Linked DNA regions of Homo sapiens: region 2 is linked to region 1. The links are contacts of gene promoters, found by promoter capture Hi-C in blood cells and fetal thymus (Javierre and others, 2016). All regions are on one chromosome and are shown on one strand. Each heading gives the region's core, a stretch centred on a gene start or on the middle of the fragment in contact. The rest is flanking DNA. Distances are from core to core; before and after follow the strand shown. Region 1 holds the start of DNHD1 (dynein heavy chain domain 1). Region 2 holds the start of OR2AG2 (olfactory receptor family 2 subfamily AG member 2).

Region 1 (3,139 bases), core at 265-2,764:
TATGGCTGGTGTGATTCAGGCACAGCAGTAGTAGAGTGTGAATGTGAAGAGAGAAGCCTACAGAGGTAGCAGGCAGTTATCAGCAATTTGTAGGCCATGATAGGACTTTGGCCTTCAGCTGAAGGAATTAGATGAGGGGGCATTAGTGAGCTATGAGCAGAGGAGTTATAGGATCTGCCTATATTTGAAAAGGATCACTGGCTGCTCTAAAAAGAATGGATTGTAGGGGCAATGGTGAGAAGCATGAGAAGGATCTGAGGCAAGGAGAACAGTTCAAAGGCTGTGGAAAAACCCAGGTGAGAAATGATAGCAGCTTAGACCAAGGTTGTAGTACTTAAGATGGTGGGAAATAGTTGGATTCTGGATATATTCTGAAGGCACAACCAGCAGAATTTCCTGAAGGATTACTTATGGAGGGAGGGGGAGAGAGAGAAAGAGAAAGGGAAAAAGAAGAGGGAAAGAGAAAGAAGGGGTTTGGAAGAGGTCTCAAAGCTGACTCCAAGGTTTTGGTGTGAGAAACCAGAAAGAATGGATTTGCCATTGACTGAGGTGGGAAAGACAGTGAAAGGAGCAGCATTTCTTTGGTGGGGAAAGGGTGGTTAGGAGCCTGCTTTTGGACATTTTAAGTTTGAGATACCTATAAGCTCTCCAGGTGGAGACATTAAGTAGGCAGTTGGATATACTAATCTGATTTCAGAGGAGAGGTGGGCTGAATTTCTTTTTTTATTTTAATCATCAACTTTTTTTTTTTTTTTTTTTTTTTTGAGATAGAGTCTCCCTCTGTCGCCCAGGCTGGAGTGCAGTGGCGCGATCTCTGCTCACTGCAAGCTCCGCCTCCTGGGTTCACGCCATTCTCCTGCCTCAGCCTCCCCAGTAGCTGGGACTACAGGCGCCCACCGCCACGCTCGGCTAATTTTTTTGTATTTTTAGTAGAGACAGGGTTTCACCGTGTTAGCCAGGATGGTCTCGATCTCCTGACCTCGTGATCCACCCGCCTCGGCCTCTCAAAATGCTGGGATTACAGGCATGAGCCACCGCGCCCGGCCTCATTCAACTTAATTTTTAAAAATTAGCCCCTCCATAAGCCCTTCCCCAAAAAATCCCCCTCCCCCCGTGCCAAATAGATGTTGAGCTCCTTGAGATCAAGGATTTTGTTTTATTCGGGCTTCTTTTGGGGAGGTGGGATAGGGTAGATGGATACGTTGGGGGTGGGGATGGGGGAGTACCAAAGACATACCAAAGACCTGGCACTAGTTTAGATACTCAGCGAATGGATATAAACACCTGCTTACGACACCCTCTGGATTGCTAGTCTCCCGAGTCAACCGTACTGCACGTGCAGTTCAGACCCCGCCTGGTCCTCTACAGGTCCCTGTCCCAGGCAAGCCTTAGCCCACAGGTTGAACCTAGTTCTGCCCCTCCAGGCTTGGGCTCTGCCCTCTCGGCCCCGCCCATATCGGACCCTGGCCCCTCCTCTTTCTGGCTCCCCCGGATGCTCCTGGCAAAGACTCGGTCCTTCTGGAATCTTGTAACGGTTCTAACAGCTGGGTGCGGGTGGAGCTGCGGGTGAGTCCTCGGCTCCGGATCCATTTCTCTTTGTTCCCTAGGACCCCCTCCCACAGAGTCCGCCTCCTCTTCCCCGCTCTCCCAGCCCCCTCCTTTGCCTGTTAACGTCTTCCCCTACCTGCATCCTGACCATCATTTGCTGTGCCTGCTCCTCGGCTTTCTGTCTTCACGACCTCCTTAGGCTGTGGGCGAAGACGTCATGGGACTGGGGCTCTGCTGCCTTCGAGTGACGACCTGTTAACCCGTTTTTCAGGCGATCGCCAGCTCGAGTGCAGATTCCTTGCTGTGACCGAGGTTCAGAGTGAGCTCTGTCGGTGTGTCAGTTTGCCTCTTCAGGTGATTGCACGTCTGTGTGCGAGTCTCTCCGTGTATGGGTGGCTATGATTAGGGTGAGCCTCAGACTGGAACTCAAGTCTAAGTTCATTCACTGCTCCAGCAGGCACTCTTCAATGAAACCTCATCAGCAGATCGGGCTCTCTTCCCTTGCCTTGCCTCCTAACCCCCCTAGGCCAGGTGAGGGGGACAGGGTACTGGGAGGTAAGAAGGAACTCTTCTGCAAGGAGGGCTCTCACGTCTGTCTTAGGCCTGCTCCTTACCAGAGTCTTTGGGGAAGCAGTAGGGAGGGCCTGAGGGTCTCAGGAAAGGCTCTCTGCTGGTCTGGCTCTGCTCTGTAGCTCCATCTATTTCCCTGTCCCAGGTCCTTTCTTCCTCCTAACCCCATTGACTCTGACCATCCCCTGCCCAGAGCCTGAGGTCCCTTCTCTGGCCCCTCTGCTGGGCTGGCCCATGCAGGTGAGGCCCCGCATCTGGCATCCTGGAACTGGCAGTTGGAGCCTGAGCTATGGGCAAGGTCACTTCGACAGCAGTTGAATGCCCAGCTCCTCATGGTCCCGGAGGAGAGGAGGGTAGGTTTGTCTTCTGATGAGACATCATCTGATTCCCTTAAGTCTTGGCACTCCATATGTGTCTTGGACAGCAAAGAACAGCCCTTGGCCTGCCAGCAGAAACAGAGGCAGTTCGTGAAGCCAGTGACTGAGTCAGAGCAGCCCACAGTGCTGGAACTCCTGCTAGCTGAGCTCCGAACTCTGTTCTCAGCTGTGTTGCAGGACAGTAGCCCTGCAGCTTGGCGCTATCTTCATGCAGTACTGGGTCTACTGCCTCCATATCGTGAGTTGCTAGTTGGCCACCTTGATTTGCTGCCCTTCCTGGAGCAGCTGTACTGCTGGGCACCCTGGGTCCAAACCCACCTCCATCTGGACCTGCTAGGTGCCATTGTCCAGGCCTTTCCTCCAGACAGCTCTTTGTTAGACAGTGCTTCCCATGCTGACTGCTGTCCCCAGAAGCGGAGGCTCCATCACAGGCCCCCATGCCCAGCTTGCCCTTTTGTGCAGGCCCAGTGGAGCAGGCAGCAAGTAAAGGAGGAGCTGGCCACCTGGCTGCGACCATTGACACTGCCTGAGCTACAGCGCTGCCTGGGCATTGTTGGTGCTCAGGTGGCCCTAGAAGAGGCTGTGTGGCTGGATGGACTTAGTCTCCTTCCCTTGGCACTGGCAGCGGACATCCCTGTACGGTA
Region 2 (3,086 bases), core at 97-2,596, 270 kb after region 1:
ACCTTATTTGTCTGTTGACAACAAAAACACAAGTCCAAAGTCAATTCTAAGCACTATTTCTGCTAAATATTAGATTTGAAATGCCTTCATTTTTCTTGAATAAAAAGATGAATGGACAGGTAAATAAAAGGAGGAACATAATTAGCTGGGCACATTCTTCTAGCTTCCTGCACCAGATGTTTGGACAGGATTTCAAAGAGAAGAAAAATCAGGGCTTGGGTAAGGTGGTGTAACCAGGACTCAGGATCCTACATACCTACCTCCTCCCTCTGATACGGGACTATTGTTTTCCCTTCTTTCCATTTACTGAGTTCTCTCTGGGGTCATCTAAAGGGAAAGGCCAGAGAACACACACTGGGCCTACAGAGGAAGAGCTTCATTCTGGAAAACTGCTGGTGGTTGCGGGTATTTCAAACCAAGAGAAGTCAGCAGAGGCTGATATTAAGAGGCATTGCTATAGTTTATGGAAAATGGTCAGTCAATTAACAAGGTAGAGCTAAATTTTTGGAAGTATATTTTATAAGTTTTTCTTTTTCATCTCTGCTCAGTATATTTATTTTTTGTATTTACTTCATTTGGCTTTTTGTGTGGCACTGGACTTAGCGCCAAGCAGTCCTGCAGGGGAAAGGCACTTCAGCATATTTTAGATAGTCCTCCTTTGAGGTACTATTCATTTGGGGACTCACATCAAACTACTGGAGGCCAGGAAAATCTAGATGTAACAAAGGTAAGTACTGAGACTTTTACCAGGAGGCCATCATCAGGAATTCTAGGAACTCACGGCTGGCCAATGGCATAGAATTATTTTGGTTGTTCCTACATGTGCAAGATGGGTACATGTACAAGGTTGATAAGATATAGATGGGAGTGAGTGAATCATAAAGCCTGAGGAACTAGAGAATCTGAGAAGGAGAGCAGTGTAAGGTCTTGACCCTGTTTCTCAGGACTTCCAGACTTCCCATATTGCCTTGAAACGGAGACAGAGCCCTTACCTCATATGGGAAGGGGCATAGCTTCCAGGTAAAGAGGTTCAAGAAGCCAAAGAAAGAAAAGTTGCTTCTTCTGGCCAGGATGAATGTAGGTGTGTGTATGGCTGTCTCTAGGATCAGAGATCAAAGGCTCCTCCAGTCACTGGCACTGCAAGTCCTCTCTGGAAGTAGAGATAGATGCAGACAGGCAGCTGAGAACCTAGGGCAGGATCCTGCAGAAGTGAGGAGCTGAATCTCTTCCAAAGTTCTCTCATTCACTGTCCTTGCGAGAAAGTCCTTACTGCTTTGGAATGGTTCTAGCTGAGTTCTTAAGTCCAGGTCCTCAGATTTCATATATTCCCCTCATGCTGTGTTTCATGATAAAAGAGGAGCACAGCAGGAATGTGAGAAAAGAGGTATAAGAAGAGCTGCTTAAAAGAGACCCACCAATGCCCAGCCTTACTGTCTCTGCGCCAACAGTGAGGCCTGTCCTGGGGGAGGGTTCATAGTCTCACCCTCTCAGCTGACATGACCTCCCCTGAAAATATTGCTCCAGGAAATGGGATTTTAATAAATCCCCTTGGGCATGTCTCCTGGCCTGCCATTTCTTCAAACTTTACCACCAAATGAGCTCTGAACCTTGAGGCCTTGTTCTGCCCGCCATGGGCTTGCTGTGTCTCACCACTCATTGGAGTCTAAGATCTTTCTCCTGCCTTACAAAACCAAAACTATAATTTTAACCTAGAAATCACTGACCGGAAAACCAGACAGAGGCTGTTTCTGACAAAATAGATAGTGTCAGTAACCAATCTGAAAAGCAACACCTCCCTGTCCAGCCCTCTGTCCAAAATATAAAGTCTGTCTCATGGGTTCTATAGATGCTGCCACTCACATATCCCTCTTTGTGCCACTAGCCTGGGCTATTACCAACTAGAGGGAGTTAACTATGCTTCTGTTAATATCAGGTCTTCCTTCACTGAGCTTTAATGAGGATCCAGCACTAATTTATTTTTCAGTTCTTTGTTTCTCCTTTCTACTCCCTCTTGTGTGTGTTCATTTGTTCATGGGCCTACATATTCTGTGATCAGTCAGCTGAGCTGCTCAGAGCTTTGGGATGATGACACAGCACCTGCTTGCACTCACTTCTGCTTTTAGTTCAGGCTTTCCCATCTCTCACCCAATTCTGTGCTTAATCTTCCTCATTCTTTAGTATCTCTTTAATCAGCCATTTCACCAGGAAATGCTGAAAATTTCTTCCGGAGTTATCATATCTTTTCTCTTTGAACTTAAAAAAAATAAAAATAAGTTTCCACTTTCTGTTTATATAAAATATATACTCAAAATTATTTCAGAAGTGCAACAGAAGAACTAATATAAAAATCTTTTTATTTTTTAATTATAAAAGGAATGTACTGAAAAGACGGTTTTAAACATGTAAATTATAAGAGCAGCATTATTCACAGTACAATAAAAATTAGAAACGACCTTTATGCCCATCAACAGTGGAATAGATAGATATGCACCAAAGGGTTACTATGTAGGAATCTAAACAAAGGAACCAGAGCATACAACAAAAAAAGCAACTTAGGAAACTAATATTAAGGGAAGCAAGAGACACCTTAGGATTATATATCGTGGTACTTCTTTTGCAGTGTTAAGAACTTAAGTGAAAATAAACTTCCTATAAATATGTGTACATTCAATAAAACTACATATAAATGAAGAAAGAAAATGATGGACATGAAATTTGCGTTAATAGTTATAGTGAAAGGAGGCAGAGAGCTGGACTGCTAAATGTGGTCGAGTCCAAATCTTCTACTACTTGCCACACGACAGCCAATAAGTGGAGAGAAAAGGTGTTGGGGCAAGGAAGACAACTTTATTTCAGAAAGCCAGCAAACTGAGAAGATGGTGGACTAACATCCTAAAGAACTATCTAAAGTTGATTAATTTTTAGGCTCCTTTTATGTTAGAGGGAGGGGGAAAAGGGATGGGGCTAAGACCAGGAGGTGACTGGTGAACACAGATGTCTGGGCATCAGCAAAGGTCTGAGGAGGTGGCAAAACTTCTTTGTTCATGGTCAACTACTTGTCAAGTCCACCTTGTTTCTATAAATCT

The links. The method cuts DNA at HindIII sites, captures the fragments that hold promoters and counts their contacts. A CHiCAGO score of 5 or more calls a contact.
Region 2: a contact is called between the fragment with the promoter of OR2AG2 here and the fragment with the promoter of DNHD1 in region 1, in 4 of 17 cell types (non-activated CD4 T cells, total CD8 T cells, naive CD8 T cells and 1 more). The highest score is 7.8, in non-activated CD4 T cells.

What each region holds. Positions count from the first base shown.
Region 1 is chr11:6,495,766-6,498,904 of GRCh38, forward strand. It overlaps DNHD1 (dynein heavy chain domain 1), which reads left to right and starts at 1,515. Exons shown (of 43, transcript NM_144666.3): 1 at 1,515-1,566; 2 at 1,820-1,902; 3 at 2,006-3,139. The coding sequence starts at 2,451. The HindIII fragment of the contact is 5,087 bases long and covers 1-3,139 here.
Region 2 is chr11:6,770,630-6,773,715 of GRCh38, forward strand. It overlaps OR2AG2 (olfactory receptor family 2 subfamily AG member 2), which reads right to left and starts at 1,347. Exons shown (of 2, transcript NM_001004490.2): 1 at 993-1,347. The HindIII fragment of the contact is 9,473 bases long and covers 1-3,086 here.